Regions from separate parts of the Homo sapiens genome. Here all the other regions are linked to region 2. The links are contacts of gene promoters, found by promoter capture Hi-C in human tissues and cell types (Jung and others, 2019). All regions are on one chromosome and are shown on one strand. The core of a region is centred on a gene start or on the middle of the fragment in contact, and the rest is flanking DNA. Distances in the headings are between cores, read along the strand shown.

Region 1 (4,157 bases), core at 911-3,410, 440 kb before region 2:
GATATGGTTGAGGAAGCCCTTGGGAGGTAATTGAGCTGATGACTATTTTGGAAACACTTAAAGCTAAATTGTAGGGGATTCAGAATCAGTTGGATAAGGATGAAGCATAACATGGTACTAGCCACAAGCTTTGGAGTCAGGTCTATGTATATCTTGTTGCTGCCATTTAATCAGATGTTTGTCTTGGATGGATGCTTTTAATTTCCCTATAAATTGGGATTAATAATGGTACCTATTGGTGTACCCTGACCTTTGTAGTCATTTGGGATCACCTAAAACTTGTCCTTATTCTGTTTGTTTGACATCTCTTTCCTAGGGGAAAAAAAGGTAAAAGGAGGAGTCCTGTAGGCTTTTGGTATGCTCTGAAAGATTCCAGCATTGCTGGACTGCACTGGGACAAAACTTCACTTATTTATGTCTCCTTATCCTTGGGATCAAGTCTTAGAGTATATTTCTTTCTCAGGGTTTAGATTCTCCTGGCTGCCAGCATCTCAGGCTGATTTTTGCAGAGAAAGCTGCGTCTTTGTGACATTTCTCCCCCATTCCACCTCTGTACCTTTCCCCAACTCAATCTTGAATGCACTGAGGATTTCATCCTGTTGTCTTGATGTCCCCCAAATGCTGATATTATGACATCTAGGAGGATGAATGTCTTACCACCAAACAGACCTGTGTTCAAGTCCCTGAGGAGGAGGCAGGACAGAGGGATAGTGTGTGCTGGGAACCCAGAACTCTCTGGGTCAACGTTTCTTCAGTTGTTGTGTGAATCAAAAGGGAATGTGGGCTTGTGGGAGGAGGAGGGATTTGAAAAGGCTAAAGTTTAGGCATTGGATCATTGTCCCTGTCCAGTCTGGTTATCTTGGGGCTCTGTAAAAGTAGAACAGGAAGGTAAGATAGTGAACCTCCCTATGAGCACGGCTTTTTCTACTTTCTAGTTAAATCTAAAGCTTTTGCAGCACTCTGCTGTTCTGTAGACCAGAGGCTATTTCTGCTACTTCTGGTCTTTTCTCTGGACCCGGGTTCAATCACAGCAATCTCTTTATTGTGGCTTATTTGCTGCTTTTAAGGGTCTCTCTTACTTAAATGCTGTGGGTCTTAACAGTGTTTTCTTCCTTGTGTTAGATGTACCAAAGCTTCAGCCTCATCCGGGATTGGAGAAGAAAGAAGAGGAAGAAGAAGAAGAAGAATATGATGAAGGGTCTAATCTCAAAAAACAGACCAATAAGAACCGGGTGCAGTCAGGCCCCCGCACACCCAACCCCTATGCCTCGGACAACAGCAGCCTCATGTTTCCCATCCTGGTGGCCTTCGGAGTCTTCATTCCAACCCTCTTCTGCCTCTGCCGGTTGTGAGAACAAATGACTATCCTGAACAGGGTGGAGGGGTGTGGGAAAGAAACCAGCCATATTGGTTTTGGTTTCTGTATTTTTCACAATGATTAATGAACAAAAACAAAGAGAAAAAAACACACATCAATTAAAGGAGACAAAAAGAGGCAGAGCGAGTAGAGAGCAGCCCTCATTCACCACCTGGTCCCAGACGTGCTTCAGTCCTCGTCCTCTCTTTGTGGCTGGCTCCCAGCCTTCTCTTTCCTCTTGAGGATACTTAGGGTAAACTGGATCCTTCCTGCTCAAGGATCCTCATTTGTATACCTAGTGGAAAGGACTCTGAACTCAGAGGAGTCACTGTTCCTTTTTTTAGGTTAGAAATTAACAGCAGGGAAATGCCATCTTATTACCTGAGACGACCAGCACTGGGAGTTAGGTACGGTCTGAAGTTATGTCTAGATAAGACTTCAGACGTCCTGGGATTGAAAGAATGTGTGTGAAGGGGTAGAATTTGTGCGGTAAAGACTTAAAAAAAAAAGTAGGGAGATTAAAAAAAAAGAAAGAAAATGCTTCCTTATCTGGAAGCCTTTCTGGATTAATCCAGTGATGGTCCCACCTTTAGTGTTTGAGCTTTGTCATTGCTTGTCTCCCTGGCATGTGCCAGTTATAGACTGTCCAGCATCCAAGACGTTTCGGTTATGTCGGGTCCTCAGATCGCCTCTGACTTGTTACCACAACAAATCATTTTGATTTCAGTGCCTGTTGGGGACTTGATTTCTTCTCAGTTTTGTTTGTTTGTTTGTTTCCTTAATCTGGCTCATTTGAAATTTCTTCTCCCTCTCAACCATCCCACTAAGTTATAGCCAAGAAGGGAAGGAGACACGGGGATTTGGGGTTCTCTGCTTGAATGTCTTCTCCTTTACCACCTCACCTTGTTGGTACCTCCCTCCCTGGATCTCTGAGCCAGCAGCCAGGAGGACCTGACCCAGCAGTTCTTTACTGGCCCCTTTGTAGGGCCTTGCTGCCAGGGGGCAGGGATGCTTTCCAGCCTGCAGCAACAGAACACTTGACCTTAAAAGTCTCTTCTGGTCTTTGGATTAGAAAAGGCTTATGTTAGCATAGCTTAAGAGCAACCTCAGAGATTTGAGCCCTACTAAGTGACTGACCACTGTTTAGAGTGTCTGGTATCTGATGTTCATTTATTCCCATGTTCTTGTGTGTCACAGTTCAGCCAGTTTTGGTTTATGCCTAGAGCTACTTCAAGGAACTAGACTAATTAGCTATATAGGCCCAGCGATGCTTCTTATTGATCTTAATAGTATGCCCCTCCTTCCCCTGTCCTTTCATTTCTCTATCCAAGTAGCAGTCAGGTTCTTGGTGTGATGGGACTGAAAGAATTCCAGTCAGCCAGAGCCTTGGCAGCTCTGAAGCTAACCTTAGCATCTAAGTGTCGATCTTGAATTCCCTGAAAAAATTTCTATAGGAAATGAAGCTTCCCTGGTCCCCTCCTTTCTGGCCATTGTCATCCATTTCCCAGTTAGGGCAACAATGAAGGAGGACCCAGCCAAGCTAGAAGGAATTTTGTGGATGGGAGACAGCAGGATTAGCTTCAGCTTGGGCTGGAGCAGTCAATATAGGATCTCAGGCCAGGCCCGCTTTTCTAGAATGTGTTTAATTTTGAGTTTGCTTTATTAGATATGTTTTTTAAGAGCTCTGTATATTTGAACTGCTCCTTATGTGACAAAATAGGTAGCTCTTGGGCTCATGTCCTGGGTTTTGGCTCTTTAATGATTACTCCAGGCCAGCATTTAGTCGTTTGAGAATTGTAGCCTGTTGTTTTCGCTGTGACTTGGGTCTCAGTGCTAGGGTATTGAGTCAGGCAGCTGGAGGGTTGTGGCCCGAGGCTGCAGTCAGAGGTATACTTCCCATAGTGCTTCACACAGCTCCCCTGCTTCTAAAGGATAAGGTACTGTAGCCTTGGTCCTGGGGACCACCTGCCTGGGGCAGTGGACATCCTAACTAAACAGGCTTCTGGCAGTAGCTTTGGTTCCTATCCCATCGAAATTCCCCAAAGCCCTGGGCCACTGCCATTGGGTTAGTCAAGATGAAGGAGGAGGACTGGCTGCCTCCATTTTGCCTTGTTTGTTAGTTTGCCTGGGTCTGTCTGAGGAAGGAGGGGGTCCCGCCTTCCACCTCAACACATCCCTTCAGTGACTCAGAGTCTCAGAAGGAAACCCTGACTCCTGGGGCCATTTCCTAATGGTACTGTAAGCCAAGCAGCTTTGCTTCTGCCTCTGTTTCCAAGCCCACCCTTTTCCCCTGAGCTCAGGGTTAGGGATGGGCGCTTTCCTCTCTGGTTGTGAACGAAAGGAAGGAACATCTTTCTATGGCTAACAAAAACTAAAGGGGAAGTGAGGAAACAGGAAGAAGTATGGTGGGGGCTGGGGTAGACTCCCCTGGAGCCAAGCCTATCCAGCTAACAAGAGCTCCCTGGGGCTGGTCACAGCTGGCTCATGATGCTGAACTTGAAAGTTTTTTTGTTTTTGTTTTTGTTTTGTGGCTCCTCCAAGATATAGGTACATGAAGTTTAGGTTAAAGGGGTGGGATTCTTTATTTTTATTTTTGTATTGTATGTGTCAAGAATTACTCTGTTGTTCACCTTTTGCTTTTTGCACTGTTTGTTCTCTTATCTGTATTTTGAGCTTAGTGCTAGGACTGAGAGGCTGCACCATAGGGAATGTATGGGAGATGGTGAGGGGTGCCAGTGAGGGGTGCGTGGAGGAGAGGCCTGGGCTCCTCTACTGGATCTACACTCTGTCCCAGGTTTTT
Region 2 (4,375 bases), core at 657-3,156:
GCCTCTTTCACTTAAGCGTAGTGTTTTCAAGGTTCATCCATGTTGGAGCATGGGTCAGTGTTTCATTCCTTTTTATGGCTGAATAATATTCCCTTGTATGGGCTTTCGTGCTTTTGTGTATCCATCCATCAGCTGATGGACATTTGACTTGTCTGCCTGTTCACTGCCATATCTACTATTCCTGGTGCTCTTGGGAATGAGTGAATGAATAGCATAAACAGAGCTGTCCAGGGTCACAGAGCTGGTAAGATGTGAAGCCAGGATCGGAAGCCAGGCCATTAGTCCCCTAGAGCCTATGTTCTAAGCATCAGGCTTTACCTGTGAATCTCCTCTTTTTACAGATGAAGATGACCGTATCACTCAGATTCCCGGCAGGAAAGCAATGGCATACTCAAGTGGGGTAACTAATGATGGAACCATTTACAAAGGTGTGGACAGAGTTAAGAAAAAGCAATAGGAGATAGTGAGCTTCCTGGGGCTGGTAAGAGTGGGGAGCCCTTACCACTCCCAGGACTAAAGGAGGGAGTGGTGCCCAGAAGCCCTGCCTATATGCAACTGAGAAGGGCAGGGCCAGGGAGTCACGTCCATCCTCACTGCTCTCCAGTCTCCTGAACTGGAAGCCAGAAGGTGAGGGGAACCCTGATGCAGTTTGTATGTGTGAGAAAGTACAATTAGTTTAGACTGAAAAACTGAAAATCTACCCGGCCACTTAGCAGGCTGGAATAACAGAAAGGGATCAAGCCAGCTGTAAAGATAACAGGGAACAATAATTCTCTGTAGCTGTAAAGTGATAATACAACCCTGCATCTTTGAGTGACTGCTGAAACATTGTCCTTTAAAATCAGAGACCTTCAGAAACTTTGCTGTTTGAAATTACATGACTAAGACTGAAATATTCCAATTTTGCCTGGAAGATTTAAGTCATCTTGACACAGAGAAGCAGCCTCAATTTACAACTCAGGAGCAGAGCTTCAGATAAAGATTTTCTGGACACATTTGACATGTATCTTAGCTATGTTGCTTCCTAGGAAACAGGGCCCTGGGTCCTCTTTGCAATCCAGACTGAAGTTGACTGCTTTGTACAAACCTGTTTTGCTTTGAGTCCATCAAAACATGACTTCATTTAGATTTTATCTCAACTCCACTTTCCTCGGAATCCTATAATAAATTGCTGTTTTCCTTTGTTTGGTGATGTGCGTAGCTCTTCTGGTGGGTGGTGTCCCTCACTGAATAGGTCAACAAACCTAACTTTGTTGGACTGCCACTGTGTCCCTGGTGATCTTTGGCTGATTGGTCTAGGTCATAGATCGACCTGCCGGGGTGCAGAGGAGGGTGGAGAGTAACTCAGAGGGTCAAGCATGAAAGATCTGGCAGAAAAATAAAGCCCCTCCACCCCCACCACCCCTACCCCTGCAAATCTGATTTCCCCCACCAACTGCAGACCAGAGTATTATAAGGGGCGGTGGAAGAAGAGGGGGAGATCTTCATTTACCCAGAGCTCCTATACATCAGGGGCTGAATAAAGGGTTGTAGAAATGAATGAATCAATCTCTGAGTGGGGCTTCAGGCAATGGAAAGATCTCAGTCCTTTTCTGAGGCATAATGGAAGCTCCCAGTCTTGTGACATTTGCAAGGCTGCCCCTTTCTCCCAAGAGACATGAGACCAAAAAAGTGAAAGGAAAGGGGGGAAAAGGGAGAATTCTAAAAATGCCCATCCTCTGAACACCATCTTTGTGTAGGCATCTGGGGGAGGCCAGCTGGGGTGAGGTCATCTGCCAGCCAGGCCCGTAGGACTTGGCGCTTCTTGTTTATCACAGCCACATGTGGGGCCACTGCCAGGGCCCGCCCCAACTCTGCAGTCATTGGAGGAGCTTGAAGTTAAAGACTCCTGCTAAAAACCAGTACGTTTCATTTTGCAGTTACTGGGAGGGGGCTTGCTGTGGCCCTGTCAGGAAGAGTAGAGCTCTGGTCCAGCTCCGCGCAGGGAGGGAGGCTGTCACCATGCCGGCCTGCTGCAGCTGCAGTGATGTTTTCCAGTATGAGACGAACAAAGTCACTCGGATCCAGAGCATGAATTATGGCACCATTAAGTGGTTCTTCCACGTGATCATCTTTTCCTACGTTTGGTAAGTGGGATCTGGGGAGGACCCAGATCTCTGCAGTGGCCGACAGCACAGAAAGCCCCAGCGGGCAGCTTCAGGTGCACATTCTGAATCTCACATGGTTTTCGAATCTGAGACGTGCTCTCACAGCCAGCTGGGCGGGAGGGAGGAAGCAGCAGCAGGCAAGAGGAAACGGTGCCAGGCTGCAGCAGAGAGAAGCCACAGGACAAGCGGGATTCCTTTCTGCTCTACTTCAGGCCCGCCAGGGCGCGCAGGGCAGGGCGTGCCTGGGGAAGGTAGGAAAGCGCAGGGCAACACCCTGGATCCCCAGGGAGGAGGCGAGGATCTCAGGGCACGCCTGGTGATCATGCTGGCATCTGAGTCACCATGCTTGGGAGGAATAGGACCAGGCTTGAAAATGTGTTATAACTTTAGGTCCTCACCAACGTCAGGAAGGCCCTGCTTTTTGGTTTTTGTTTCTTCTAAAAGAAACTTACTGAGATATAATTTATACACCATACAATTGACCCATTTAAAGGGTACCATTTAATGATTTTCAGATTATTCCCAGAGTTGTGCAACCATCCCCACAATCAATTTTAGAATATTTTAATCGACTCAAAAGGAATCCCACACTCCTTCACCATCATTTCCAACACTGTTCCTCCTCCTTCCCACCCATCAATTTCCTTTCTGCCTCTATGGATTTGCCGATTCTGGACATTTCATATAAATGGAATCACATAATATGTGGTCCTTTGTGGCACTTAGCGTGTTTTCAATGCTCATCCATGTTGTAGCATGTGTTGATACTTCATTCAATTTTTTTTTTTAAAGAGACGGGGTCTCACTATTTTGTCCAGGCTGGTCTCAAACTCCTGGACTCAAGTGATCTGCCTGCCTCGGCCTCCCAAAGTGTCAGGATTACAGGCGTGAGCCATTGCACCCGGCTGATACTTCATTCCTTTTTACGGCTGAGTAGTACTCCATTGCATGGATAGACCACTTTTTTCTATCCATTCATCCATTGATGGACATTGGGGTTGTTTCTCTTTTTTGGCTATCATGAATAATGCCACATGAACATTTGTGTACAAGGTTTTATGTGGATATATATTCTCCTTTCTCTCGAATATGTACCTAAGAGTAAAAATTGCTAGGTCATATGTTAACTATGTTTCACCTTTGGGGGGAATGTGGAGCTGAATTTCACAGCAGCTGCAGTTTTTTACATTCCTATCAGCAGAGTATGAGGGATCCAATTTCTCCACATCCTCACCAACGCTTGTTATCGTCTGTCTTTTTGGGTTTTGTTGTTGTCATTTTGTTTTTGTCTTTGAGATGAAGTCTTGCTCTGTTGCCCAGGCTGGAGTGCAGTGGCGCAATCTTGGCTCACTGCAACCTCCACCTCCCCGGTTCAAGCGATTCTCCTGCCTCAGCCTCATGAGTAGCTGGGATTACAGGTGTGCGTCACCACTCCTCACTAATTTTTGTATTTTTAGTAGAGATGAGGTTTCGCCATGTAGGCCAGGCTGGTCTCAAACTCCTGACCTCAAGTGATCCGCCCACCTTGGCCTCCCAAAGTGCTGGGATTACAGGCATGAGCCGCCACGCCCGGCTGATTGTCTGTCTTTTTTATTATAGCCATGCTAGTGGGTGTGAAGTGGTAGTTCATTGTGGTTGTGATTTGAATTTCCCTGATGGTGAGTGCCTCTTATTCTCTGTGCTGATTGATAATGATGATGAAGGCAATTTGTATCTATAGAGTGGCAGTGTAGTTTACTAAGAGTTAGGGTAACTTATTTCATAGTACTGGCTATGTCTTCTGGGCCAAGTCATTAACTTCTCTGAGCCTCAGTTTCTGCATCTGTTCATAGGGTTGTGGCAATTAACCAAAAAAAAAAGGCATGAACAGCCCTTATCATGATGACTGACATAGGATAAGAGCTCCATAACTAGTATCTATTTTTAAAAATAATCTTTTTAAGTCTGGGAGTGGTGGCTCACACCTGTAATCCCAACACTTTGGGAGGCCAAGGCGGGTGGATCACGAAGTCAGGAGTTTGAGACCAGCCTGGCCAATATGGTGAAACCCCATCTCTACTAAAAATACAAAAATTAGTGGGGAGTGGTGGTGCACACCTGTAATCCCAGCTACTAGGGAGGCTGAGGCAGGAGAATCGCTTGAACCCGGAGGCGGAGGTTGCAGTGAGCCAAGATCAAGCCACTGCACTCCAGCCTGGGTGACAGAGCAAGACTCCATCTCAAAATAA
Region 3 (4,409 bases), core at 1,230-3,729, 310 kb before region 2:
AACAAATGTTAAAGGGTAAACATGCCCCCCACCCCCAGTCCCTTTCTCATAGTGTGCCCTTCCTTATATGACACTACCTTAAGTCTACTGGATAGTCATTATATTTATAACACAAATGGAATCTTAATTACTAACACCTTAAACTCATTTAAAAAAAAAGGACAGATCCAAACTTACATAATGTCAGTTTGATCCAGAACAATGTTCACAAATTTTAATTCATTAAATCCAAAATAATAAAGTTTTACTAAATTAATAATTGAAAAACTATATAATCCAGCCAATTATTTAGTTTGAAAAAACAAGCCTGACACACTAAAAAGGAAATTATGGCAAAAGCAGCCCCAATTCAGTTAACTGAATTTGTTATCAAACAGACCTGATGTATTCAGAGAAAAATTTTTCTGTGAGTTAGGAAACACTAAAGAGCATCTGTTTATTGAGCACCTGAAAGGAGTTTGGCTTGGTAGAGAGAAAAGAGAGTGGAGGTGAGAAAACAAATCCCAAAAGAATAAAGGTCATGATCTTAACTCTCTAGTAACAGGGCACATGTACACAGGAATATCAACAGGAGCAAATATCGCTTGTCTTACGGAAGAATGGAATTCCAGAGAGACTCACTGCAAGATCAGCTTCTGTTTACAGAGGGGTTAAATTATGGTGTACTTGAAGTCAAGGTTTGTTAGCAGGATTTTAGCTGCTGGAGTTTTAACGTCACCTGAAAACATTGCTTTTATTCAACTAGTAGAGTAAAAATCATAAGAGTCTATAATATTTTTGGAAAATCAGTCAGGCAGAAATATTCAGTGTAGATAAATTGGGCAGAAGAGACTAGAATCAAGGAGACCAAGTAAGATTCTTATGATAATCTAAGCATGAGGTGATCAAGTCTAGGTTAGTACGAAGTGGAAAGAGGAGGTGCTATAGTCACAAACTATATTTTGAAAGAAGAACTAATGGGACCTCTCTTTGTCCAGGGTGTCTATCTCTGGTGACACACTCACTGGTCAAGAGAATGAAAGCAGGGCAAGAGTTAGGACGGGCGCAGTGGCTCACGCCTGTAATCCCAGCACTTTGGGAGGCTGAGACAGGAGGATTACCTGAGGTTGGGAGTTCGAGACCAGCCTGACCAACATGGAGAAACCCTGTCTCTACTAAAAATACAAAATTAGCCGGGCATGGTGGCACATGTCTGTAATCCCCGCTACTCAGGAGGCTGAGGAAGGAGAATCGCTTGAACCTGGGAGGCAGAGGTGGCGGTGAGCTGAGATTGCACCATTGCACTCCAGCCTGGGCAACAAGATTGAAACTGTCTCCAAAAAAAAAAAAAAAAAAAGAAAGCAGGGCAAGAGTCAAAATTTCCATGGGTTATGACAAACTCAAACCTAGACCTACCTGCCTTGCCCTCTAACAGTGCTGGATACCTGACTGGGCATCGAAATCCCAATTTAGGCACTCATGTATGTGGCAGAGACAGTTAGAGGTCACAACTTAAGGCAGAACCCTTGACACGGATCACCTCCACCTGGCCTAAAGCTTACCTAACAGCAAGCCCAAACAGCACCACCAAACAGTGCCAGGGGAAACCTGTTCAGTGTTACACAGCCTAGTAAGTGATAAGAGTCTCTGCAAAATCGCTCCATAAAGCAGACACTCAGCTGTCTCTGGCCTTAGCAATAAGAAGAATATTTAATACCCTCGTTTTTCAGAAGTATATACAAAGGATCAATGACTAAGGTCTTTGATCTTTAGCTTCTCTAAAAAGATTCACATTAAATAATGTCTTGGAGTTTTCACCTAAGTTTATACCTGGAGTCCTGCTGTCCAGGACTCCAGGAGGGGAGAAAACACCAATACAATCTACTGTTTGAAACTAAAATAACAATGAGATGCCCTGGGTGATTTTATTTATGAATTTTCTAATTAATCCTGACAAAATTGAGACATTCATAAAATGAGTGTCAAAATTTAAAAGTCATATACTGGAAGAGGTTATTTTTATTTGGTAGCTGTAAAGGGTGCTGGACTCTGTTCTCCAGTTGGTGATTTCTACCAACCCCGAGAATGTTTTCAGAGGAAACTTGACTTAGCAGGAGTCAAATTCTTGGTTAGAGTTTAAATCACAGTATTTTGAAAGTGTGGGTTTTAAAGATTTTTCCAAACTATGTTTTCCTCTATATAGGGGGGCCACAAACAGCCAAACAAAAGTTATCTGAACTTCTTTATATAATAAACATGAGAAATACCCTTAACAGGGAAGTAGTTCTTTAAAAACTATCCAAGAAGCCAGACAAAACTTATTTGAAAGGCCTATGAGACCAAGAAATATAACTGCTGCTATAATAACAGGAACAATAATAATAATAATAATAATAATAATATAATAATATAATAATAATAACAATAATAATAATAATACTTTGGGGGCTCTTACTGAGTTGCTAGACTTCATACAAGCTGTTTACATTTTCCTCATTTCATCTTTTCAACTTCTCCCTGAGGAACATACTTCCACTATCAGCTTTAGAGATGAGGATACTGAAGCAGAGAGATGAACTAGTTTGTCCAAGGTCAAACAGCTGCACAGCTTCAAGGAAGAAGAACTAGCATTCCCATCCAGGCAGCCTGGTTCTAGATCCAGAGGTCATGCTTTAAACCATTTTACAACACTCCCTAGCTCAACCTGGCTTGTGCCCCCCAGCCTCAGCTGGGATCATTAAGTTGTATCATGAATCAAAACGCACCCTCCAAGAGCTAATGGTAAACACCACACATGGACCATTTTCCAGACTGGCCCATAAAAACAAGTCTCAAATAATTTTTTTTTTTTTGAGACAAGTCTCACTCTGTTGCCCAGGCTGGAGTGCAGTGGTGCCATCTTGGCTCACTGCATCCTCCGCCTCCCAGGTTCAAGTGATTCTCCTGCCTCAGCCTCCCGAGGAGCTGGGACTACAGGTGCACACCACCACACCTAGCTAATTTTTGTATTTTTAGTAGAGATGGGGTTTTGCCATGTTGGCCAGGCTGGTCTCCAACTCCTGACCTCAGGTGATCTGCCTGCCTCAGCCTCCCAAAGTGTTGGGATTACAGGCATGAGCCACCACGTCTGGCCTAAGTCTCAAATAATTTAAAAGAACTGATATTATACGAAATATGCTCTCCAACTACAATTTAAATTAGAAATCACCCAAAGGAAAATCTGTGAAAATCCCCAAATATGTGGAAATTAAACACACTCCTAAATAACCCATGGGTCAAATAAGAGATCACATGGAAAATTAGAAAATATCTTGAACTGAATGAGGATGAAAACAAAACATATCAAAATATGTGGAAGGCAGCTAAAGCAATGTTTATACAGGCAAATCTACAGCATTAAGTGATTATACTGGAAAATAAAAAAAGGTTCAAAAATCAAAGTTTTTGCCTTAAAAAAAACTAGAAAAAAAAGAGCAAATTAAACTCAAATCAAATAGAAGGAAGGAAGTAATACAGAGCAGAAATCAATGAGACTGAAAACTACAAAATTCCTTTCTGCAGAAATCCATCGGCTAGTTCCAAAATTTGTATGAAAGCAAAGGAAGTAGAATAGCTAAAACAATCTTGGGGAAAAAAAGTTGGAGGATTCACATTAACTGATTTAAACACTTACTATAAAACTACAGTATTTATAGTGTGAATTGGTGAGGAATACACGTACTGTTCAATGGAACATAGATTCCAGAAATTCACAAATTTATAACCAATGAATTTCTAACAAAAGTTCCAAGAGGAAAGAAAGTCTTTTTTGTTTGTGTTAGAGATGGAGTCTTGCTCTGTTGCCTAGGCTGGGGTGCAGTGGCGTGATCACAGCTCACTACAGCTTCGAACTCCTGGGCTCAAGAGATCCTCTGCCTCAGCCTCCCGAGTTGCTGGGACTACAGGTGTGTGCTACCACTTCCGGCTAAGTTTTTTATTTTTATTTCTTGTAGAGATGGGGGTCTCTCTATGTTGCCCAGGCTGGTCATGAGCTCCTGGGCTCAAGTGATCCTCCTGCCTCAAGCCTTCCAAAGTTCTGGGATTAGAGGCATGAGTTATTGGGCCCAGACTAGGAATAGTCTTTTCAACAAACAGTGTTTGAACAACTGGATGTAAATATGCAAAACAAACAAAAAGCCTCACACTGTATGCAAAAACAGATCATAAGCTTAAATGTGAAACTGAAATCCATAAAGCTTCTAGAAGAAAACAGAAAAATCTTTGTGACATTGGGTTAGGTTAAAAATTTCTTAAAACACAGAACAGATCATAAAAGAAAATTTGATAGGTCAGACCTTATCAAAATAAAAGCTGCTCTTTGGCTGGGTACGGTAGCTCACGCCTGTAATCCCAGCACTTTGGGAGGCCACGGCAGGCGGATCACTTGAGGT

The links. The method cuts DNA at HindIII sites, captures the fragments that hold promoters and counts their contacts. A contact is called where the count stands out against the background at its distance.
Region 1: a fragment that was not itself captured here is called in contact with the fragment with the promoter of P2RX7 in region 2 in 2 of the 25 tissues and cell types used here (H1 embryonic stem cells and spleen).
Region 3: a fragment that was not itself captured here is called in contact with the fragment with the promoter of P2RX7 in region 2 in 1 of the 25 tissues and cell types used here (dorsolateral prefrontal cortex).

Annotation. Positions count from the first base shown.
Region 1 is chr12:120,695,194-120,699,350 of GRCh38, forward strand. It overlaps MLEC (malectin), which reads left to right. Exons shown (of 5, transcript NM_014730.4): 5 at 1,123-4,157. The coding sequence ends at 1,352. Among named protein-coding and RNA genes, the nearest start is that of MLEC, 10 kb to the left of the region's middle. The HindIII fragment of the contact is 3,246 bases long and covers 538-3,783 here.
Region 2 is chr12:121,130,970-121,135,344 of GRCh38, forward strand. It overlaps P2RX7 (purinergic receptor P2X 7), which reads left to right and starts at 1,907. Exons shown (of 13, transcript NM_002562.6): 1 at 1,907-2,126. The coding sequence starts at 2,002. The region is part of intron 2 of LOC105370032 (a long non-coding RNA gene); the gene reads right to left. The HindIII fragment of the contact is 21,026 bases long and covers 1-4,375 here.
Region 3 is chr12:120,824,976-120,829,384 of GRCh38, forward strand. All of the region lies in intron 1 of SPPL3 (signal peptide peptidase like 3), which reads right to left. Among named protein-coding and RNA genes, the nearest start is that of SPPL3, 77 kb to the right of the region's middle. The HindIII fragment of the contact is 3,442 bases long and covers 759-4,200 here.